Regions from separate parts of the Homo sapiens genome. Here all the other regions are linked to region 4. Evidence: promoter capture Hi-C in 16 types of primary human blood cells and fetal thymus (Javierre and others, 2016). All regions are on one chromosome and are shown on one strand. Each heading gives the region's core, a stretch centred on a gene start or on the middle of the fragment in contact. The rest is flanking DNA. Distances are from core to core; before and after follow the strand shown. Region 1 overlaps DAP (death associated protein). Region 2 overlaps DAP (death associated protein). Region 3 overlaps DAP (death associated protein). Region 4 holds the start of MARCHF6 (membrane associated ring-CH-type finger 6). Region 5 overlaps ANKRD33B (ankyrin repeat domain 33B). Region 6 overlaps CTD-2154B17.1 (a long non-coding RNA gene). Region 7 overlaps ANKRD33B (ankyrin repeat domain 33B).

Region 1 (3,187 bases), core at 88-2,587, 380 kb before region 4:
CACTGCTTATGGACTGAGAGGCCTCTTCCAGGGAGAAGCTGTAAGGAAGGTACAGCAAGACCCTCAGAATAAAAAGCAGGCCTGATTTCATGGCAGCATAAAATAGTAACAAATAGCCCATCTGCCCTGGGAAGGAGAATCAGGAAGATTCCCGTTGCTGTTGGGCAGTTCTTCCTGTCAGGTTTGTCAGACTGAGACTCAGAGACCAAGTTTGTAGGCAAAATGGGGCATTGCTGAAGTGTCACCGTTTATGTGCCAGCAAGGGAGTGGTAAAAGGAAGCGTTTTGCCTGTGGCAACTTGGGCGGCAGAAAGTTGACAGAACAAGCACAAGCCCTCAAACCCCCTGACGGCAGCCGAGTCTGCTGGCAGCATCCGCTGCGTGTGAAGCCCCATGCAGGATGACATCTGTGCAAGCGAGGCTGCCCAGGGAGGGTTGGCGTCTGGCAGCCTCTCCAGAGGCTGCAGGCTGTCCTAATGGCAGCTTCGAGATCTGCCATTAGGACAAAGCCATTCTCATCTCCACCCAGGTTAGAGTGGGCAGAACTTCCAGGCAGGCTGGCTGCCTCTCCACCAAGAAGCAGCACATTAGTTTTCCTAGTGCTCCCATAACACAGTTGCACAAACTGGGTGGTTTAAAAACAGAAATGTTTCGTCTCACAGTTGTGGAGGCCAGAAGCTTGAGATCAAGGTGTTGGCAGGACCACACTCCCTCTGCAGGCGCTGGGGAAGGTCTGTCGCAGGCCTGTCTCGCAGCTTCTGATAGTGCTTGGCTGGTGGCAGCCTCACTCTGCTGCCTTTGCCTGACGTTCTCCCTGTGTGCCTGTCTGTGACCAAACTTCCCCTTTTTATAAAGACACCTGTCCTATTGCATTAGGGGCCTACCCTTCTCCAGTATGACCTCTTCTTAACTAATTACATCTGCAACAACCCTGTTTGTAGATAAGGTCATGCCCTTAAGTACTGGAGCCTAGGATCTCAACCTCTGTTTCTGGGGGAAACGTAAATTCAACCCACAACAAGCAAGCAGCACCTTGTGCTACTAGGCGTCAGCTGGCAGTACCTGGCTCTGTTGGCATTCCAACAGCAATGACAGCACGATAATTTATTAACTATGATGCTTACATGGCAAATGATTCTCTCTTCCCCTATGCCAGTGTTTACTGTTGCTCAGGCTGAGCACTGCAGCAGCCCATTTTCCTGACCAAGGGCATGCTGTGTACAGTGGTGTGGCCCCAAATTTGATCACACACTCCATCAATTAAGAAAAATGTTTTCTGCATGCATCCCCAGCATATGAGTATTCATTTTAAAAGTATACATGTGCACTGCATTACCACTATATAAGTTATGAAACATATACAAAATGAATGGTAAGATATTTGATAAAGATGAAATCAGCAGTATTTTAAATGTCTTGCTATTTCTAGTGACTTGGTACTATCATTAGCTCATCTCAAGGTCCAGATACCCTTGAGATGGGATTTCTCGTTAATGATTCAGGATGTAAATCTAAATTTCTAATGGGCTTCCAGGCAATTTCAGGTTTTGTTGGGGAGAGCTGCTTCTTGTCACATGTGACTAGGTTGTTGGTATTTGTAACATGGAGACCAATGACGACAGGCAGGAGCGCTTCCCTTTGCTTATGTTCACTTGTGCTTGTATTGAGATTAACTTCGGCCTCCAGAGGTTATTTTTTCAGGAATTTTTTTTAAGCTACTTGTCCATTTTGTAAAAGTTAGCTTAAATTCACTCTAAATTCATCATCTGAGCACAGTTTGAGGCACTTGGGATATATTGAGGATGATACTAGAGAATTGAACTCATTACCCCGTTAACCAGATGGAGTCATGGGTATGTTGCAAGACACTGAAAGCAGATGAAGGGCATGGAGGCCTTTGGGTGGCGGCCCCACGGCTTCCCTGGGAGCTCTCAGGACCAGGAGGCCGGTGAGGGACAGTCTGCCTGGGGGCCACATAGTAAATAGTGGCAAAGCTTAATTCATTTTGTTTCTTTAGATAAAAAATAAATGTAAATAGAATATATCTTCATGTTTAGCTCATTTTCCCAGCTAAATAATTGCCTTCTTAAGCACATGGGACTGCCTTAATCATGGATTAATTCATCATGGCCCAATACCACTTTTGTTGTTGTATATAATAGAAATTAAACATTTCTCCCAACACCTGTGGATATGTGTATTTTAGCATGATCAGTAGAAATGACGCTGTGAGTATTTTAAGGAGTTTTGCTCAGAGTCGCCCTAGGAACACAGGGTAATAGCACTGTCAGGATTCCCAGTGAATCTAGCCTGATTCCTCCTGTCCTGGAGGTGGATGCCAGAGAAAGGCTTGAGGCTGGCAGGCAGTGAATCAAAGCCTCGCCACAGAGCGGCACAGCATATGGGTACCCATATGTCCGAGATCCTGGCTGAACTCCTTAGATTTGGGGATAAGAAAGAAAGTGCGGGCGGCCAGGCTTTCCTCTAGGGCCAGTGGCTTCTGGTAATAGGCTTTGAGACAGTATTTGTACAACTCTGGCTACATAACGGATGTGGAAACCAGGTGTGATTTATGAGCTTCCGAATGGCCCCTTCCTGCTCTCTCTCCCTCCACAGGTCCCAGCCTCCTTCTAAGATTGCCACACTCCTATCTACACCGGCAGGACTGTTTTGATCTGATGGAAGGAGGGAAGAAAGGAAATGGGGCTATCAGTTCTCCCTTCCAGGCTCTGCTCTGTGTGTCTGCACTGCAGTCATCCTCTTGGAACGGAGGCTCCTTTGTTTTTATGGTGTGACTTGAAAGGTTGCACTATTTATCAGGAGTGTTTTCTTACTACATAAACATATGAACTGAATTTAAATCAACTCTCCAGTGCTTGGATTTTATAGAATGAAATATGTAATAATAACCACATGAAAGTAAGAGCCCTTATTGAGTTTATTACATTAAAATGACTAGGCCTGAAGTTTTTAAGTACTTTTTATCTAGATAAGCCCTGTTGACTTCAATTGTCTCAGAAGGCATAGCACTCAGAAAACACTTGCTGAATCAGTAATAATTATCTTGGACTTTGATTCTCTAAAGATAAAATAGTCAATTAACTTGATTACTTCTTATTTTCCAGTTGGTGAAAAAAGGTGAATGCAGTAGTAGCCATGTTGGGGAAGAAAATTCTTTATCCTCACAT
Region 2 (3,493 bases), core at 626-3,125, 360 kb before region 4:
CAGGAGGGGCCAAATGCAGCAACTTGTCCTTTACCTTAGAAGGAATATCTTGACAGGCTGTACACCACTGGACCCTTAGAAATTTTACTGAGGTAGAAGGTATCTGAATTTTAGTCGGATTGATTTTTCATTCTCTGGCGTGCAAATGTTTTCACCAGTAAGTCCAATATGTTTGCTACTTCCTGCTCACTGGATCCAATCAGCATAAGGTCATCAATGTAATGGACCAGTGTGATATCTTGCAGAAGCAAAAAGCAATCAAGGTCTCTCCGAATAAGATTATGACACAAAGCCAGAGAGTTGATATACCCCTGAGGTAGGACAGTAAATGTGTATTGCTGGTCTTGCCAGATGAAGGCAAATTGCTTCTGGTGGGCCTTATGGACAGAAATGGAGAAAAAGGCATTTGCCAAGTCAATGGCTGCATACCAGGTACCAGGAGATGTGTTAATTTGCTCAAGCAATGAAACTACATCTGGCACAGCAGCTGCACTTAGAGTCACCACTAGGTTAAGCTTATGATAATCCACTGTTATTCCCCAAGATCCACCTGTCTTCTGCACAGGCCAAATGGGAGAGTTGAACAGGGATGTCATGGGAGTCACCACCCCTGCGTCTTTCAAGTCCTTGATGGTGGCACTGACTCCGCAGTCCCTCCAGGAATGCAATATTGTTTTTGATTTACTATTTTCCTAGATAGAGACAACTCTAATGGCTTCCATTTGGCCTTTCCCACCATAATAGCCCTCACCTCATTAGTCAGGGAGTCAATGTTGGGGTTCTGCCACCTGCTAAGTATGTTTATGCCAATTATGCAGCCTGGCACTGGGGGATTGACCACAGGATGAGTCCAGGGACCCGCTGGACCCACTGTAAGTCAGATCTGAGCTAAAGCTCCGTTAATGACATGACCTTCATAAGCCCCTACTTTAACTGAGGACCACAATGATGTTTTGAGTCCCCTGGAATCAACGTCAGCTCAGAGCCAGTGTCCAGTAGTCCCTGAAATGTCTGATCATTTCCCTTTCCCCAATCCACAGTTACTCTGGTAAAAAGCCAGAGGTCACCTTGGGGAAAGATGGGAGAAAGATTTGTTGCATAAATTGTTGGTAATGTAGTAGGGTCCTTCCTCAAGGGGACCCAGCCTCCCCTTCATTCAAGGGGTTCTGGGTGTGTAAACTGACTCAAGTCTGGAAATTGATTGAGGAGCCGTGATTCTGTTTTTCTAATTCAAATTAGTCTTTTATCCATTTCACCTAGAAGCTTTCCGCTTGTATAAATTAAGTAGGAATGCAGTAAGCTTCCTATCAATTTCACTTCTAGGAACACTGTGATTAATTAGCCAATGCCATAGCTCTACACTAGTCAGACTATTCTGATTGCCTCATTGCCTCTGCCGTTCATTGTCGTAGCTGCACCCACCTTGCCTTTGATGGTCGAGTGCTGCCACTTGGCCCCTGCCACCTTGGTATCTAATTAGCAAACAGAGGTATTGGGGTGGATTCTGAGGAGAATCAACATTATCTTGCCTGGCAACTGCCTCAGAAGAGGTCATCACTGTTCCCTCAGGCAGCGCAGGGTTTATCTCCTCAGACAGAGGTGCAAAGGCTGGTGGCAGCATGGGTCGGGAAGGGGATGTTGCCACTACTGGGAATAGGGAAATTCCTTCTGGCAAAAATGGTTCATCAGAGTTTACAAACTCAGTGTGCCCAGCTTCATCAGGGTCCTCCCAAATGTCCCCATTCCAAGTTGCAGGGTCCCATTCTTTTCCAATCAATGCCCTCACTTTAACAGTAGACACCTGGCGAGGCTGTGCACGAACCTTTTGTTTCAGGTCAGCCACTCACATCATAAGGGCTTGTGTCTGTTTTTCCACAATTTCAGCTCTTTCTCTACAGGAGGTAAGACTCTCACTCAGGGCAATCTTAGCAGATTTGAGGTTCAGTATCTGCTTCTGAAGCCCGGAGACAGAATCCCTGAGTTCATCATTTTCTTTCATCAGTTTGTCCACTGAACTTGGGAGCAACCAACAAGCTGCATTATGTTCCTTGGTTCTCCACATATGGTCAAAGGTATTATGTATAGAGTGAGTGAACTCCTTGCTTCTCACAAGCGGTGAATCAGGAGTGCCAAATGCATTTATTTTGCATAAGTCTAAACAGTTTCCGCCTAGGACTTATCAGTATTCTCCATACTATTAGAAGCAGAGTCCTTAGCATTTTGGGGTCTAATCATATTAAGCAACCAACTCCAGAAACCCCAAAACCAATGAAAGAACTCCATCCTTAATATTCTGTTCCTCTACAACCACTCCTGGTACCAAAATCTGTATTCCTCAGAGTTCCCTAGAGGGACAGAACTAATAGGTAGATACATACATATAAAGGGGAGTTTATTAAGTATTAACTTACACGATCACAAGTTCCCAGAATAGGCTGTCTGCAAGCTTGAGGAGCCAGGAGAGCCAGGTCCGAGTCTCAAAACTGAAGAACTTGGAGTCCTGGAGTCCAATGTTTGAGGGCAGGAAGCGTCCAGCATGGGAGAAAGATGTAGGCTGGGAGGCTAGGCTAGTCTCTTGCTTCATGTTTTTCTGCCTGCTTTATATTTGCTGATGGCTGATTAGATGGTGCCCACCCAATTAAGGGTGAGTCTGCCTTCTCCAGCCCACTGACTCAAATGTTAATCTCCTTTGGCAACACCCTCACAGACAGACACACCAGGATCAATATTGCATCCTTCAATCCAATCAAGTTGACACTCAGTACTAACCATCACAGTTAGTATAGGGGTGGAGGGAGAGAAAAAATATTATTTTTTCTTACTACCCACAGATATCTAGACTTCGAAGGAGTTTACTCTGCACGATAGATGTGTTCCTGAAAAGTTCATTGAAAGCACAATTTCTCTTAGTCGCATTTTATCTTCTTACCAGCAGTTTCAGGGCTTATCCAGCTTCATTCTGCCCGCTGTTTCTTCACCGATGGAGCTCAATGTCTGTGTCCCCTGTCACGTTCTCATCACTTTGAAAATGGGAAATGATTGGCAGGCAACCCTAGGACACCACACTTCTAAAACTGGCCACAGCTATCAGCTAAAGGGAGCAATGCCAATATGAGGTGGGCCCACATTGTGTGAGATGGAAATTAATGAAAGCAGCCCTGGGTTGATACTCACATCCTCTGCTGGAGAAATTAACAGCAGTGTTTATCTCTGCTAAATCTAGGCATGGTGTATTATCGAGAGGTTTCCTGTCAGGTCCAATTTGGGATCATCAAATTAATTGTTACGTGTGACAAGCTGACATGCAAAGAAAGCAATAAATACCTCAGTGCCAGCTCCTTGTTGGAATTCCATGGTGAGTTCCCAGGGCCAGGGGGCATGAATGATAAATGAGGCTAACAGCCTCCCTGCCTACAGCAGCCTGCCCTTTCTCTCCGTGGCATCGGAAGACTCACCCCTGTTTTCCTTGAGACCTTAGTTAACTCACTCACTT
Region 3 (3,131 bases), core at 299-2,798, 330 kb before region 4:
GGTTAATTAGGTGGAATGCACACTGTTTTGGTTGTGCCCCAAGAGACTGCTCTGACCTAAGCTTGCCACTGAGTGACATTCCCTGTCCCTGCTCCTCAGCTCGGAGTCAGCCCTCAGGGTGTGCACAAGGGCAAGTTCACGGCCTTTCCATCCTGAGTGAGTCCCTTTGACTGCGGCATCAGACCCTCAGTCTTGCCATCACTCAGCCAAGTCGCCAGCACCACATCCAGCAGAATGACTAGCCACTTTGTATAGGATGCAGCACAAAGGACACCAGTCCCTGGCTCATCGCCACACCCGGTGGGCCTCACCTCACCCCTCGCCACCCAGTGGTTGGCAGAGGCACATTTCTTATGCTGAGCCTAGCATGATTTTCATTGACATCCTCTGTCTTTATGAGCAGAATCCACCAAGCCACTAAAGCTCAGCAGATTCAGTCATGACTCAGCACAAAGGAGCTATCTCCGTGAATTTGGGGTTTCACAAGGACAGCGCCATCTGTGAATGACTCCTGTGGACTCTTAGACGCTGCAACCTGCAACCATGGCCCTGGACACTCCTGGAATGAGCTGGGCCTGTGGGGGGAGGGTCATTCTTACTGCTGGGGGTCTCCTTTAGCCCCCAGGGTCTCCATGGCCATTCAGCAGTTGCGATGGGACAGTGTCTTGAGCAGCTCACATGGGAGTGAGGTGCTAAATGTGGGTTTAGGAAAGGAAAGAGCGTGCCCTGGGAGTCAGAGGCTGGTTTCTAGGCCTCAGCTTCCGTGTGTGTTTTCCAGCACTCAGGCTAGAGCAGAGCTGTCATGATCTCATATCATCACTGTTCACACACATTTCTCCGGGTACATACTCGAGGCATAGAACCCCACCCTTGTCGTGATCAATGCAGGAGACGCCCAGAGGACAGCACCTCTGAGGAGCACCGAGGGCAGGGAGGAAGGGCGGGACTGTGGCAGGCCCCTGGGCTCCAGACTCCCGTCCTCAGTGCACACAGGGGACCAGTGCTGGAGACAGATTCCTGATAGCCAGGTCCCCCGAGAGCCTCACGTGGCAGCTACTACACAGTGGGGCTGGGCTCAACCAAGGAGCCTGTCAGGAACACCCAACATGGAGGCCTCTCCAGGCTGGCGCCCTACTGCTGGATGGCGCCTCTGCGTCCTGGAGTTCCACTCCACCTCTGCAAAGGGTGGCGTACTCACAGGGTAGACCACCCTCATTGCTGGGGATCTCCTTTAGCCTCCAGAGTCTCCATGGCCATTCAGCAGTTGTGATGGGACAGTAGTTGTGTGTGTGTGTCAATCTTTATAAATACACACGTACAGTAATACAGAAGTACAAGTGATTTTAACTTGTTTTGCTTGTCTGCGTTTCAATAATGAATATGTACAGGCAGACCTCAGAGATATTGCAGGGTCTGCTCCAGGCCACCATAATAAAGCAAATATTGTGATAAAGTGAGTCCCACAACTTTTTGGTTTCACAGTGCATATAAAAGTTATGTTTACCCTCCACTGTAGCCTATTAAGTGTACAGTAGCATTACGTCTAAAAAACAATGCATAACTTAATTTAAAATTTTAAAAATTTAAAAATTCTGTATGCTAATGATCATCTGAGCCTTCAGTGAGGCTCAGTCTTTTTGTTGGTAGAGGGTCTTGCCTCAGTGTTGATGGCTGCTGACTGATTGGGGTGGTGGTTGCTGAAGGTTGGAGTGGCTGTGGCAGTTTCTTAAAATAAGACAACAGGCCAGGTGTGATGGCTCATGCCTGCAATCCTAGCACTTTCGGAGGTCAAGGTGGGTAGATCACTTGAGGCCAGGAGTTCGAGACCAGCCTGGCAAACGTGACAAAACCCTGTCTCTACTAAAAATACAAAAATTAGCCAGGCATGGTGGTGTGTGCCTGTAATCCCAGCTACTCTGGAGGCTGAGGCATGAGAATCACTTGAACCTGGGAGGTAGAGGTTGCAGTGAGCAGAGATCACACCACTGTACTCCAGCCTGGGCAACAGAGTGAGACCCTCTCCCTCTGTAAAAAAAAAAAAAAAAAAAAAAAGACAACAATGAAGTTTGTGACATAGAACATAGATCAACTCTTCCTTTCAGGAAAGAAAGATTTCTCTGCAGCATACAATGTTGTTTGATAGCATTTTACCCATGGTAGAACTTCTTTCAAAAATGGAGTCAGTCATCTCAAACCCTGCCACTGCTTTATCAATTAAGTTTATATAATATTCTATATCCTTTGTTGTTATTTTCAGTGTTTACAGCATCTTCACCAGGTGTAGATTCCAGCTCAAGAAATCACTTTCTTTGCTCATCCATGAGAAGCAACTCCTCATCCCTGAGGATTTTAATCACAAGATTGCAGCCATTCAGTTCCATCTTCAGGCTCCACTTCTAATCCTAGTTCTCTTGCTGTTTTCACCACATCTGCAGTTAGTTCCTCCAGTGAAGTCTTGAACCCCCTCAAAGTTACCCATGAGGGTTGGAATCAGCTTCTTCCAAACTCCTGTTAATATTGATATTTTGACCTCCTCCCATGAATCATGAGTATTCTTAGTGGCATCTATAGTAGTAAATTCTTTCCAGAAGGTTTTCAATTTACTTTGCCCAAATCTACCAGTGGAATTACTTATTTCTTAAATAATAAGACTTGAAAGTCAAAATTACTTCTTGATCCATGGGTTGCAGAATGAATGTTGTTTTAGCAGACATGAAAACAACATTAATCTCCTTGTATACTTGGTCTTGGGTGGCCAGGAGCATTATAAATCAGCAGTAATACTTTGAAAGGAATCTTTTTTTCTGAGCAGTAGGTCTCAACAGTGGGCTTAAAATAAGCAGTAAACCTTGATGTAAACCAATGTGCCGTCATCCAGGCTCTGTCATCCCATGTATAGAGCACAGACAGAGTAGATTTTATGTAATTCGTAAGGGCCCTAGGATGTTTGGAATGGTAAATGAGCATTGGCTTCAAATTAAAGTCATCAGCTGCATTAGTCCCTACTAAGAGTCAGCCTGCCCTTGGAAGCTTTGAAACCAGTCATTGACTTCCCTCTCTAGCTGTGTAAGTCCTAGATGACATCTTTTTCCAATAAAAGGCTGTTTTGTCAACATTGAAAATCTGTTGTT
Region 4 (3,328 bases), core at 139-2,638:
CGAAGCCTACATTTCCACATCTATAAAAGATAATACCTACCTATTCCACAGGCTTTTTACGAAGATGGAACGCGAATGTACATCAAGTGCCACATGTTATAGTTGAGGTATTTATTAAAGGCAAGACTTCTTTAAAAAAAAATAAGTCGTTATCAACTCATTACATAGATAATATCAAACTTTTTTCACTCATTATTGCACTCCATGACGGCGTTTGATAATTCATTTTCGTTTAAAATCGCCAAAATCGCAACCCATAAGGTTGAAAGACGCTCATACCCCCATAAATATACCTAAAGTAGAAAAGCATTTGCACGATAACCGGAACATCAAAAAAAGCAAAATTTAGTAATTTCCTCTATAAACTCACCACTCATTTAAAAACACAGCTGGTTAAAAATAATCTACTACCTTCAGTGGGTAAGAAAATGCGTTTGAAGAGACATAAGGTGTGGACGTTTATATCTTAAGTATTCATTTTACAAGGGTCAGTTTGTTCAATGTAACCGTATCCAAAACACAAGCAATCGCAAAACAAAACAAACAGAACCCTGCTTATAGGTGTCAAGGATTTAAAACCAAATGGATCGCAACAAAAGAGCCTCCCCGTTTAGTAAACAGATTCTCGAGCGGCAGGCAAGCCGAGGACCAGGCTTTTCAACAGGGGTCAGCTCACTCCACTCGGCCGTCATCTGGCGGGGTATTTTTCGCGAAGTTTCAAAGTCAACAAAGAAGTTCTGTCGCGAGGGGGTAGGGCCTGGCGAGCAATAGGCAGAAGGACGTAAAGAAAGACAAAACCCAGTGGGGGAAGGGTGCGGAAAACGCCCCCGGACGGCAGCGACAGAGGCCCCCTTTTCTGGGCCAGCGCGCGACGGCGGGGACAAGGGAGGCCACGCCGGCCTGCAGTAGCCCCGAGGCCCCGACCCCGGCCCCGGCCCCTGCCCGGCAGGGTCCCCGCCCCCCTCGGCGGCGCGGGCGGGAAACGGCGGGGGGCGCGCAGAGGGTCACCTTCCGCTCCCCGGCCCAGAGGCCCAGCGGGTGGACAAACGGCCCAGGCGTCCGCCCCGCCGCGATCCAGCAGCCCACCTCGAGCGCCGCGGACCTGGCCGGGGTACGAACCCGGGCGCCGACGCAAGGGCTCGGGCGCCGCGCGTCGCCGACTTACCTTCCTCCGCGGTGTCCATCTTGTCTGGGGGGGCGGCGGTGACGCAGCCACGAGGCTCCCGCGGCCGGGCGGGGAAAGAGGGAGGGGAGAGGAGGAGGGAGCCGGGCCCGGGCAGGTGCGTACGCTCAGGTGCGAGAGAGGAAGCGAGAGGAAGGAGAGGGGAGAGGGAGAGGGAGAGAGGCTGACAGAAAGCGAGCGACACGGGAGGGGGAGGGGCGGGAACACCTAGGGGCGAGGCCTGGGCGGGGCGCCGAGGCGGAAGGGGCGGGAGCTCCCCAACGACAGGCGCTGTCACTTCCGGCGGCCGCGGCGTGCACTGTCGGTCGGCGGCTAAGGAGGGGAGGCACCTGCATCTGGGGCGCGGCGAATCCTCGCGTGCGCCAGGCCGCCTGGGGTAGTCGCCGAGACTGCGCCGGCCAGCGGGGCCGAAACCTAATCAGGAGCTGAGCTTTGATGGCGGCTTCTGGAGGGACAAAGAAGGCGCAGAGCGGTGGGAGGAGGCTGCGAGAACCTAGCTCCCGCCCCAGCCGACGTGCGAGACAAAGGCCCCGGCGCGGGGCTCTTCGGAAGGCCGGGAGGTTCCTGTGACAATGCGAGTCTGCGCCCCACGCTCCCGCACCGTGATGCCGAGGCCAAATGGCTAGAGTGGGCCCAGGCATCAGCATTTCTGTTTGGCAGCCGGGCAGTTGTGGTGCACGTTTTGAGGAACTACTAAAGCCTGCCTGTGATGAAAAAGGCAAAAGCTGACTTCACCAAAATTACTCCCAGGGAGACTTCTGCATTTGGCTGGAAGGACATTTGAGTAAACCGCTGAGGCTGGTGGTTGAAACATAATCCTCTAAGGGAGATCGGTTCCGATACCCTGAGTTAGGGACGCTTGCCTGGGCAGAGCTAAGGGGAGAATGATCAAAAGCCAAGCTCTGTCCCCGTCAGCACGTCACCCTCCCTCACTGTAATCCCTGACTGTTTTCTCTAAATGAAGAATTATTTAGAGAATATAAATTAGAAGGGCCGCCACGTCAGAATTGCCTGAGTGGGAGCAGTCTTTCCAGCCTCGAAAAATGTTTAAACAATATGCAGATGACCTAGCACAAATAAAGAATGCTAGCAACCGCTGTTATGTGTGAGCGGTGGAATTGGGAGGGCTCTTCCCCCAATCTTCATCAAACAGAGTAAGGTTTAGAATAAAAATAATGAAATACAGTCTTTCAAAAAGAGCAGCGCTTGACTAATGTTACTGATGTCACTCATGTTACTCAAGGGAGGAAAGAACTCAAACTCTACATAATAATACCCACTGATTTCAAGGGCTGGCACGGAGAATTAAGCAGACCGCCATTCTTTATATTTGTTTTTTTGTTGTTGTTTGCTTATGATTTTTTTCTTTCTTTTTTTTTTTTTTTTTTTGAGAAGGGGTCTCGCACTGTCACCCAGGCAGGAATGCAGTGGCGCGATAATGGCTCACTGCAATCTCACTATATTGACCAGTATGATTTTCAACTCCTGTCTTTAAGCGATCCTCACGCTTCGGCCTCCCAAAGTGCTGGGGTTACAGACATGTGCCACTATGCCCTGCCTAAATATGTTTATATATACTACCGCCAAAGAAACAATTTGAAGACGATCTTTCCCCAGCCCCTCTCCTTCTGATCCAACTCCAAGAGCTCACCCTCCCTGTAAGACCTGTAGCAGAGCACGTATTGGCCTGCTGATACTAGGGGCAAAGACCGGGCCGATCAGATGTTACATGGCATAAGGGCGAAGGATTCTGAAAGAAAGACTGAGACTTGCTGGAGGAAGTACTAGTAGTGCCAAGGGCAGGTATGTGACCCTCGGAGCTGCAGAGCCAGGTTAGGATGAAGGGAATGTGTGTGTATGGGGGGCGTGGAGGAAGCCTTCCTTTTGTATTTAGGTGCCTTCCCTTGTGATGTTCAAAGGAAAGTTAACCTGTCAACCAGTTTTCCCTTCTGCATAGTAATTCCTTCTGGAATTGCCCTAACCTTTTCGCATTCAGACTTTAGGCGTTAAATATAAGAGTAATAAACCAACATTTGTTGAGTCCCCACTGTGAGTCAGGCACAAGTTCTCACAACAGCCCTTTGAATACATGAATCAGTCACACCTCTCTTGGTTGCCATTGACAGGAACTCAACTGTTAGGCAG
Region 5 (3,343 bases), core at 353-2,852, 270 kb before region 4:
GACCAAGTCATAAATTCTCCTCTGAACTGGGACTCTCCCCGATTCAGCTCAGGAACCAGGGCTCCCCCGCAGCCCAAACCCACAGCTGCCCCTGAGAATCCCTCCCGTTCTGTCCCCGTCCCCGGGCAGCATCCTGCCAGGCTGGCTCTCAGCACGTAGCCTCAGAATTTTACAATTAAATGCAAGAAATAACAAGTTGCAAGCACACATCAGAGGTTCCTTATACCCAAAACAAGCTTCACGTGCTGTATCCCATCACCAGCTCAAAGAGACCCCTGGCGTTTCCTCACTTTACCACGTCCATGCTATTCTGTTAAAGCACAACAAGGAAACAGAAATAAACACACAACTCTATCCATGGGACTTCTTGTTCCTTTCTTTGGTTATCTTATTTTATTTTTGTTAGTGGAGCGGTGGTGAAAGTTGAAATGACTGGCTAAATGAGACTTAGGGATTACATGGGGATTTATTTTCAAACGTTCTCTCCATTTACAGACCTAGTACAGATTTGGCTGTATTTTTATTGTGCATTAAATAGCCGAGGAAATTAGACTTTTTAGAGAACACTCAAAAGGCAGATGAAGGCATTTGCATCCGAATTCGTACTCATAAATGCTGTGTCCTCCAGAAACCCAGAGCTTCCAACTCTCAGACAACCAACCCAGTTGCCATAGCAAATAATATAAACATATGGTTGCTTTAAGATTGCGCTTCACAATGCTGATTCTGCTTAGTGCGACTGCTGTCTACACAAGCCATCCTCCATCACTGGTTTGGCACGGGCTTGTGACGCAACCCTGGTTGGTGAGATGGCAACGATACTCTGCTGGAGCCTTCTGGAAATGTTTTCCTGTCTTATAAAGGGAAACGCCGACAGGGATTTGCTCCTCTTCCTTGATGTCCCTGAGTGTTGCAACGTGAAGCCGTGGCACTTCTAGCAGCTGGGGCCACCTTGGGACCATGAAGGAAAAGGCGAATGTATTTCTGAGAAGTGGCTCTAGGTCCCAGCATCACCCAGCTACTCAGTGAAGCAACCCTGCAACATCGCCCGCAGATGTCTTGTGTTGCAAGAGAAGGCAGTGTCCTTGTGGTTGAAGCCAAAAGCATCCTAACAGGTACTAGGCTCAAAAGAGAGCTGGGGAAATACAACTGAAAACCAGAGTTTTGGTTCATTTGAGTAGGGAAATACTGAAAAGACTGATCTCAGCCAGGGCTTGCAAGAACACTCTTGGACACTCAGGGGAAAGGAGAAATCGCCACAGCTTTCTAAAGACCACTTGGCAGCTGCATACACTTAAAACAGGCACAGCCCTTGCTGAAGCAATTCTGTTCTAAGAGTGTGTCTGCACATTGCTTCTCCTCTTCCTTGCCCTGCTTTCGGCCTAGGAAGCTGACCTGCACCAACAGCACCTGCCCAGTTTCCGCCCCAATGAGGTTTCTGGGTTGGCTCAGCAGGGGACCAGGGTGGAAGGAGCGGGACATCTGGCCCTGCCTCCCACTCCGGCCCCTGGCTGCGGTTCTAGGCCGAGGCTGCCTCTCGGGTTCCAGCTTCTTGGCCTGTGTCACTCGGGTTCTAGGCCGAGGCTGCCTCTCGGGTTCCAGCTTCTTGGCCTGGGTCACTCTCTGCAGAGTCCCTCCCCTTAATCCTTTCAATGTTGGTTCCCTTAACTCTACCCTTCCCCCCGTAATTGACAGGCCCTCATCAACTCCTCTGTTCAGCCCTCTGAGACCACCTGTCACTCAACATGCTTCAAGCTGCCAGGATCCTAACACGCTGTCCTCAGAGATGCACCCCAGATCCAAAGACTTCACTACAGCCTTGCTGCCGTTGATTAACTCAAAAGCCCACCTGTCCAGTAACTGGGACAGTTAAGTATACCACGGTTCATGCATTTTACACAATATCCTCTTTTCCAACAAATATTTAAGAAGCAAGTACTTCATGTTCAAGGACTGGCCTAAGAGCCGGGTCCACCACAGTGAGTGAAGGCCAGTCATAACGCAGCCTCTCAAATTTGAAGTCTTGGTGGGGAACCGGGCATGAGCCACACATCCCCGTGCAGGAAGGCAGGGCTACGAGCGCCTGGCAGGGCTCAGGGACACCGACACAGCAGGAGCTTCTAGATTAATAACCATGTGAACAAAACCACTAAAAACACAGTCTCAACAGCACTAGCCCAGTCATGTGAATACAAAGCGCACATACATACGTGTGTGTTTGGAAAGGACTGAATGAGGTCTGAAGAGGTGACTCCTGAGTGCTGATAAGGGAGCTGGAATATTTGGAAGACAGAGAAGGGATCTTTTTCTTCCTCCCTGATAATACTTTTGTAGTCATTTTTGGCTGTAAGCAAATATGCATGGACAGCTTTTGAAATTAACAAATCATCAAAGAAATAAAACTGGTTATGAAATTGATTAAAATGGGACATCACCTGATTGGGCCTAAACAGCCTCTTTGGCAAAACAGCACAGGAAAGTCATGAACACATGCTCACCTGCCTTCCTCATTTTCACTTTAATTCCGTGATGCCTCTGTGTCTGTCTGACAACATCTCTCGTGGGGTCTGTGACTCTGCTGGTCTTCAGTGCCCACTGAGAGGGGTCCTTTGCCGTCATCAGGCATAAAATCTTCAAAGCTCTCCATCCTCAATGTGGGGTCCCTGGGCCAGTGGCATCAGCCTCACCAGGAAACCTGTTGATCTGCTCATTCTTGGGCCCCACCCCAGGCCTATTCAAAGAAAGACTCCAGGGGCAGGGCCTGGCAGTCTGTGTTTCCACCAGATCTGTGTTAATGCTCACATGAGCCAGCCCAGGTGATGCTGACGCCGGAGGCGCAAGATTGGGAGCCAGTGTCTAAGGAAACTATGCCCATGGGGACAGGGGCAGCCCCTGGAGGTTCAGAAAGAAATTAGGGAAAATCTCTTCGGCACATTGAGGCAATTAAGACACACACAAGGAAGCTTTTTAATCTGTGTTTGTTTAAATGGTGTAAAGTCCCTCTCCCCTCTGCCTCCGTATGCAACCTCAACAATTCAGTCCCAAAGCCTCAGGCAGCAGCCTAGGTTGGGTGTCCAGGGATCAGAGCCCAGGCCAGAGGGTGGGTGCACACAGTGGCGGCCACAGAGAGCTCAAGCAAATCAGTAAGTAGGGGAAGATAACAAAAGCCAGTAAAAAAGAAAAAAAAGGCCAGGCCCGGCGGCTCACGCCTGTAATTCCAGCACTTTGGGAGGCCAAGGTGGGCGGATCACTTGAGGTCAGGAGTTCAAAACCAGTCTGGCCTACATGGTGAAACCCCGCCTCTGCTGAAAATACAAGAAGTAGCTGGGCACGGTGACTGGCG
Region 6 (3,215 bases), core at 40-2,539, 420 kb before region 4:
GAAGAATGTGAGTATCAGGGGCAACTCCAACCACATCTTTTCCCTTCTCTTGTCTGCCTCTCCTTCCTTACCTTTCAAATTCACATCTGGGAACCTTTAAAGAGAAAAAGACGCCTGGACTGGGAGGCTGGTGGGAATGAGGAAGGAGGGAGAGCCGTTGCTGCCTGTTTGCCTAGCAGTGGTAGAGAGTTTGTGGACTGGCCGTGGATGTCAGAGCCTGGGGGCTTCTCTAGGATCTTCTGAAGGGCCTCTTCCTTCTCACCAGTGAAAACCTAGACTGATCTCCAAGACCTGAGCCTTTGTATAGCTTTTGGGTTTTGTCAGGCCTCTGCAGCTACTGTTTAGGCCATTGGGGCAGCAGCCTGAGTCACCACTCAGGGTTAGAGATGAGGGCCAGAGCCCTGGCCTTCTCTCTGTTCCCTGAGGCTGTGCTGCACCAGCCTAACATGTGCTCACAGTTTGCCTGTGTTGTTCTATAGTCTTTAAACATAATAGCTTCTTTAAACAAGGGCCCACTGAGGCAGGCCCCTCATATTCCCATTTCACTCTTGAAGAAACTGAGGTATGAATAGGTGAAGTAACTTGCCCCAAATCTTACAGCCAGCAAGTGGCAGAAGCAGAATTGGAAGACAAAGTTCCAGGTTCCCAGCTAAATCTCTAACCTGCCACTCACGGGCCGGAAGCAATGTTTCCGTTTATTTGCTAGTTTCCATAATCTCTATTGTGAATCTCTCTTCAATCAGTTTTGTGTCTTAAACGTAACCAAAGAAATCCAAACTTCCCAGGCTAAGCTGAGGATCTTGGTGTGGAGTCCACTCCTGCTGTGGGGCCTCTAACTCTTGCTCCACTCCATGCCCTGACTTGGTTGCAACCAGGAGATGGCTCCCTGTGCAGACTCAACAGGTTAAAGCTGGAGGAGCCATCCATCTCTGAACACAGCCCCTTGCTCTACCCTGGGGGAATCGAAAGCCAAGAGAGTAGGAGATTCATCAAGGTAGAATGCTGGATTCAGGCTCAGCCAGCCCGTCTCAGGCCCATCTTGTGTTTGTCCCTCCACCTGAGGGTGCAGACTGGGCTCTGCTGGCAGGTGGAGAGTGGGTATATGGGAGCCCCTAGACAGGGGACAGATCATTGCTGTTGGCCACTGGGAGGAGCTGCAGCAAGAAGCACAGAAGCATGTCTTAGAGCCATTCCAGGGCATGATGGAGCTGCAGATAGATACCCACATAAGTGTGGGCATTGGCAAAGCGATGTGAACACTGGGGCTGGGGTCTCTCTGTTCTCCCCAAAGACCCAAGACCTCGCAGAACTATGATAAGGCTAGAGGAAGACTTATTTTTATTTCATTTTTTTCTTTTTTACCTCTAAGGTGATGCCTCGTGCAAAGCTGGTGCTCAAAATATATGATTATGGATGGATAGGTCAACAAAGACATAAACAGCAACAACCCTGGCTGCTCGGCCCTTTTGCTCTCGTCATTGGCTTCTTTTTCCAGAGCATGCATCTTCTAATAGGTCTAACCCCAACAGTGATCAAATGGGACCTCTGTTCTATTCCTTTCTTAACTGTAATCATGAGTTTCACACGGCTGTCATTTTACTGCCTGCTAGGAAAAGGGAATATGTTTGAATTTTATAAGTTTCTGAATTTCATAATTTTTTTATTTTTAGAGGTGCTCCAGGCTGACTCCATACCTCCCACTGAATGACAATTGTTCTAAAGGTAGACATTCTTATTTCATCATCAAGAAAAGCACTCTGTAGTGAACAAGGGCACTCACGCAATTGGATTCATGGAGAGATGTTTGTTTTTCTCCCACTTGTTTACTGTTGCTGGTGTTAGATCAAGTCTGGCCTTTACTATTCCATTAAAAAATGACCATTTGTGATTAGATATTTACAAAAATATATTCAGAATGATATATTTCAGATATTACATTTTTTCTAACAGTTCGTTTTAGTTTTGAATAGAAGCCTTAAAATACTTGGCCAGGTGCGGTGGCTCACGCCTGTAATCCCAGCACTTTGGGAGGCCGAGGCAGGCGGATCATGAGGTCAGGAGATCAAGACCATCCTGGCTAACACGGTGAAACCCTGTCTCTACTAAAAATACAAAAAATTAGTCGAGCGTGATGGCGAGTGCCTGCAGTCCCAGCTACTCGGGAGGCTGAGGCAGGAGAATGGCATGAACCCGGGAGGAGGAGGCTGCAGTGAGGCGAGATCGCACCACAGCACTCCAGCCTGGGTGACACAGTGAGACTCCATTTCATAAATAAATAAATAAATAAATAATTGGAAAAGTAAGAGTTAAAAATAAATCATGGAAAATCATAAAGTGATTCATTATCTGAAATACTTTCTGAGTACAAAGCACTTTGTTTCCTCTTCTTTGCTGATACCTGCATGTGAGCTAAAATGTGAAGGAAGGCATTTGTGATCTGATTTTGTGTCTACAAATGTCTATGCCTAACCTTGAGCTGCTGCCTTTGTTGGTGTGTGAAGTGATGCAGCAGAGCAGGGGATGGCAAACCTTCTGCAAAGGGCTAGAGTCAATTTATTGTACTTTGGGGGCCAAATGTGTCTGCCACGACTCCTCAACCCCGCCATTGTAGCCAAAAAGCAGCAATGAACAATATGTAAAGAAATGGGCATGACTGTGTTCCAATAAAACTTTACACAAACAGGCACCAGGTCAGACCTGCCTTGCAGACTACTGTTTACCAACCCTGTAGTAAACAATACTCAAAGGTACTCTAGTTGAGAATAAAATTACAATTAGCGATAATGGTACAGTACAGCTAGAACATTATTATTTCTGACACAGCGTTAAAGTACCACGTGTATAAAACGCTTCAACATAAATATGGGCAGATTATATTAAAAGGTTGTATTGGCAATCACCATCCAAGTAGTGACCCCTGACCTGTGACTTCTCCTGTCATCTACAATCATTTAAAAAGTTGTTGAACCACTGGGGTGAGAGTGGTAAGATGTGAAATCTTCTCTTTGTCACCCTAATGATGAATGTCTACCTAATCAGTTGGAACAGTGATATCATACATTTCTTTGAGTTGATAATATGGCAAAAAAAAAAATCATGAGGCTGTCCATGAAAATCCCATCTATTTAGGAGATACAGGCAATATAAATGAGAAAAAAAAAGCTCATAATAATAATTACTAAACCTGAAATTAAGGTAGAGGAAGGCACTTGCCC
Region 7 (3,208 bases), core at 138-2,637, 290 kb before region 4:
GGGCGGGAGGGAGGCCGGCTCTCGGGGAGCCCTCCCGGGAGTCCGCGTCCTCCTGTCCGGTCCGCCCGCGCTGCCCCGCGCCCCCCACCTCATCCTCCTCCTGCGCCTGGGGGCCCCGTGCAGCCCGCGCCGCCAGGATCTCCTGCACCGCCAGCCGCCTCTTCCCCACGCTCGGAGGGCTCTCAGGGCACACGGTCTGGCACACGATGGCCACGGCGGGGCTGTAGAGGCTCGTGGTCATCCGGACCATGTGGTCCAGGACGCCCCCGTCCTCCGGGCCCCGCACGGAGCGCGGCGTCAGCACGGACAGCACGCAGTCTGTGAGCCTCTGCAGGCAGTTCTTGGAGCCCGCGGGCTTCCGCGCCGCTTCAGGGGGCGGCGGCAGCTCGGGCCGGTACTTCTCCCAGAACTGCTCCGGGCAGGGGCGCTCCAGCAGCCTCTGCATGAGACGGACGGCATCCACGCGGCCCGTGTAAGTGGCCCACTCCTGCGGCGACATCCCACGGCGGGGGTCCCTCGCGTGGACATCCGCCCCTGCAAAACGCAAAACACAAACAGAAGTGGGTGGCGGCAACAAGGACTCTTCCCTCCCAGGCAGAGCCTGGGGCAAAGGCAAAACTGCCCCCACCCCCCACCCCTGGCCCCAAGCCTCCTAACAGACTGCACCTAGTTCACTCTGCGAACCCTGTGCTCATCTGAGCGCCGGAAGGCGGGCCTGGAGTGCAGTGGCGGGAACACGTCCTACTGTAGCCTCGACTTCCGGGGCTCAAGCCATCCCCCCAAGTCAGCCTCCCGAGTAGCTGGGGCTACACCACCGCCCAGGTAATTTTCTGTAGAGATGGGGCCTGGCTATGTGGCCCAGGCTGGTTTCGAACTGCTGGGTTCAAGCAATCCTCCCACCTCCGCCTTCCAAAGTGCTGGGATTACGGGCGTGAGCCACCGTGCCCAGCCCAACCTGCCTTTTAAGTGCTCCATTGATTATCTGTCCTGAATAAAACCCCGCCTGAATTCAGCACCTAAATTACAGAATTTTTTTTTTCGAGACAGAATTTCACTCTTGTTGCCCAGGCTGGAGTGCAATGGCACAATCTCCGTTCACCGCAACCTCTGCCTCCCGGGTTCAAGCGACTCTCCTGCCTCAGCCTCCCGAGTAGCTGGGATTACAGGCATGTGCTACCACGCCAGGCTAATTTTGTATTTTTAGTAGAGAGGGGGTTTCTCCATGTTGGTCAGGCTAGTCTCGAACTCCCAACCTCAGGTGATCCACCCGCCTCGGCCTCCCAAAGTGCTGGGATTACAGGCGTGAGCCACTGCGCCTGGCCAAATTACAGAATTTTTTAAAGAAATAAGATCCTATAGCTTTCCATCAATGGAGAGATGACCAGACAACAAAGCTGCCTTGCATACTTGAATGCTGTGGCTAGAAAGTTCTAAAAATATGACCAGTAACAGTCACTTGCAAAGTGGTGGCACCCCAGCTGTGGTCTCACTCTTGAGGACTGCCATGGGTCCTGGACTGTGGGAAATGGGTGGTTCCTTCGCTTCTCCCACTGCGGCCTAGCTGGCTGGGGTCTGTCTACCTTTAACCGATGGTGGGCTTTTCCAGGATAGAAAAATTCATTTTTGTTTGCTCAACACGTTTCATCCTGGTGGGTAGGGGGCATGAATTTTTAAAAGGCTTGTTGCAAAAAGAATGGCAGTCACAGTGGCTGTGGGCTAGTAACAGAGAGAGGGTCTAAGACTTGGGTGTCCTAACCTCAGTCTAATGTACTTCCTACCACCTGGCAGTCCTGGTGTGATGGTCAGTTTTAGTTTTCTATGTCAACTTGGCTAGGCTAGAATACCCAGTGATTTAATCAAACATGGATCTAAGTGTTGCCCCAAAGGTATTTTGCAGCTGTGGTTAACATCTATAATCAGTTGACTCTAAGTCAAGGAGATTACCCTTCATAATGCGGGTGGGCCTCGCCCAATTAGTTGAGGGCATTAAGAGCAAAGACCAAGGTTTCCTGGAAACAAAGAAATTCCACCTCAAGACTGCGGCATCTACTTACTGCTGCCTGAGTTTCCAGCCTTCGAGCCTACCGCACCAGTTTCAGACTCACCAACCCCCCAAACCACACAGCCAATTCCTTAAAATAAATCTCTTGATATCCACATCCTATTGGTTGACTGATAGGTCCCCTTACACAGTCTCCCTGACACTAGTCACTCCCTTAATAAATCTCCCCAGTCCACCCACTGCCCCCAAATATTGCAAAGTTAAACTTCAACTCAACTTGATGAAATCTGCATAAATTTCAATGTTGTAGTATAGAAATTAATACGGAATTGCTGTTCAATTAATCTTGGTCCAATCTCAGTCCCACATACTGTTAAAAATCATTGAGGGGCCAGGCATAGTGGCTCACACCTGTAATCCTAGCACTTTGGAGGCCGAGGAGGGCAGATCTCCTGACGTCAGGGGTTTGGGACCAACCTGGCCAATACATGGTGAAACCCCACCTCTACTAAAAACACACAAAAAATTAGCTGGGCGTGGTGGCAGGCACCTGTAATCCCAACTACTCAGGAGGCTGAGGCAGGAGAATCGCTTCAACCCGGGAGGCAGAGGTTGCAGTGAGCCGAGATCGCACCACCGCACTCCAGCCTGATTAACAGAGAAAGACTCCATTTCAAAAAAAAAAAAATCATTGAGGATTTCAAGTCCCATTAGTCATATCTCCACCAGCAAAGCAACATGGAGAACTAGGGCAATTATCTAGTCTGTGAGCTCAAAGGGGACCGGACCCGACAGACGCTTCTTCATTTATATCCCATGCAGACCCAGGAGTCTGACATGTGATGGCTGATCAACGTGTGCTGAACTGAGGAAGGTCGGGTCCCCAGCCACTGCCCTGGCCTGTTGGCCCACAGTGGCCTCATGGCTCTGGCAGACCCAGCTCACCTGAGCTTGCCTGGTAAGGATCTTAGTTCTGTGACACATTAAAGAATAGCCATATTAGAAGAGTGGTAATTATTTGGAACTGGATATCAGGATGGAACTCATTAGCTAGAGTACAATTTATAAACTGACTAAAATGAAAAGGGGGCAGTAAAAGTGTCATTGCAAAAAATAGATGACACATTAAACCTTAATTAATTGCATGTCACTTAAAAAAGGAACAAACTATAAAATTAAAATCTTAATGAACACTGCCTGAAAGAG

What was found. The method cuts DNA at HindIII sites, captures the fragments that hold promoters and counts their contacts. A CHiCAGO score of 5 or more calls a contact.
Region 1: a fragment that was not itself captured here is called in contact with the fragment with the promoter of MARCHF6 in region 4 in 4 of 17 cell types (total B cells, naive B cells, neutrophils and 1 more); the score reaches 14.4 in total B cells.
Region 2: a fragment that was not itself captured here is called in contact with the fragment with the promoter of MARCHF6 in region 4 in 2 of 17 cell types (neutrophils and total B cells); the score reaches 7.5 in neutrophils.
Region 3: a fragment that was not itself captured here is called in contact with the fragment with the promoter of MARCHF6 in region 4 in 1 of 17 cell types (neutrophils); the score reaches 6.1 in neutrophils.
Region 5: a fragment that was not itself captured here is called in contact with the fragment with the promoter of MARCHF6 in region 4 in 17 of 17 cell types (neutrophils, activated CD4 T cells, naive B cells and 14 more); the score reaches 34.4 in neutrophils.
Region 6: a fragment that was not itself captured here is called in contact with the fragment with the promoter of MARCHF6 in region 4 in 8 of 17 cell types (neutrophils, naive CD8 T cells, total CD4 T cells and 5 more); the score reaches 10.4 in neutrophils.
Region 7: a contact is called between a fragment that was not itself captured here and the fragment with the promoter of MARCHF6 in region 4, in 7 of 17 cell types (neutrophils, total B cells, monocytes and 4 more). The highest score is 23.6, in neutrophils.

What each region holds. Positions count from the first base shown.
Region 1 is chr5:10,733,697-10,736,883 of GRCh38, reverse strand. The region is part of intron 2 of DAP (death associated protein); the gene reads left to right. Among named protein-coding and RNA genes, the nearest start is that of DAP-DT, 26 kb to the left of the region's middle. RefSeq lists an enhancer at 527-676. The HindIII fragment of the contact is 1,316 bases long and covers 680-1,995 here.
Region 2 is chr5:10,715,667-10,719,159 of GRCh38, reverse strand. The region is part of intron 2 of DAP (death associated protein); the gene reads left to right. Among named protein-coding and RNA genes, the nearest start is that of DAP-DT, 44 kb to the left of the region's middle. The HindIII fragment of the contact is 1,146 bases long and covers 1,303-2,448 here.
Region 3 is chr5:10,686,827-10,689,957 of GRCh38, reverse strand. The region is part of intron 2 of DAP (death associated protein); the gene reads left to right. Among named protein-coding and RNA genes, the nearest start is that of DAP-DT, 73 kb to the left of the region's middle. The HindIII fragment of the contact is 2,969 bases long and covers 64-3,032 here.
Region 4 is chr5:10,351,755-10,355,082 of GRCh38, reverse strand. MARCHF6 (membrane associated ring-CH-type finger 6) reads right to left here and starts at 1,388. Exons shown (of 26, transcript NM_005885.4): 1 at 1,166-1,388. The coding sequence starts at 1,184. It overlaps MARCHF6-DT (MARCHF6 divergent transcript), which reads left to right and starts at 1,026. Exons shown (of 3, transcript NR_183261.1): 1 at 1,026-1,111; 2 at 3,310-3,328. RefSeq lists enhancers at 152-723, 1,570-1,829 and silencers at 780-1,249, 1,290-1,429. The HindIII fragment of the contact is 4,878 bases long and covers 1-3,328 here.
Region 5 is chr5:10,624,274-10,627,616 of GRCh38, reverse strand. All of the region lies in intron 2 of ANKRD33B (ankyrin repeat domain 33B), which reads right to left. Among named protein-coding and RNA genes, the nearest start is that of ANKRD33B, 62 kb to the right of the region's middle. RefSeq lists an enhancer at 1-23. The HindIII fragment of the contact is 2,727 bases long and covers 239-2,965 here.
Region 6 is chr5:10,773,756-10,776,970 of GRCh38, reverse strand. It overlaps CTD-2154B17.1 (a long non-coding RNA gene), which reads left to right. Exons shown (of 4, transcript NR_188230.1): 3 at 1-7; 4 at 1,671-2,330. Among named protein-coding and RNA genes, the nearest start is that of CTD-2154B17.1, 12 kb to the left of the region's middle. The HindIII fragment of the contact is 6,699 bases long and covers 1-3,215 here.
Region 7 is chr5:10,646,592-10,649,799 of GRCh38, reverse strand. ANKRD33B (ankyrin repeat domain 33B) reads right to left here. Exons shown (of 4, transcript NM_001164440.2): 4 at 1-534. Among named protein-coding and RNA genes, the nearest start is that of ANKRD33B, 84 kb to the right of the region's middle. The HindIII fragment of the contact is 8,941 bases long and covers 1-3,208 here.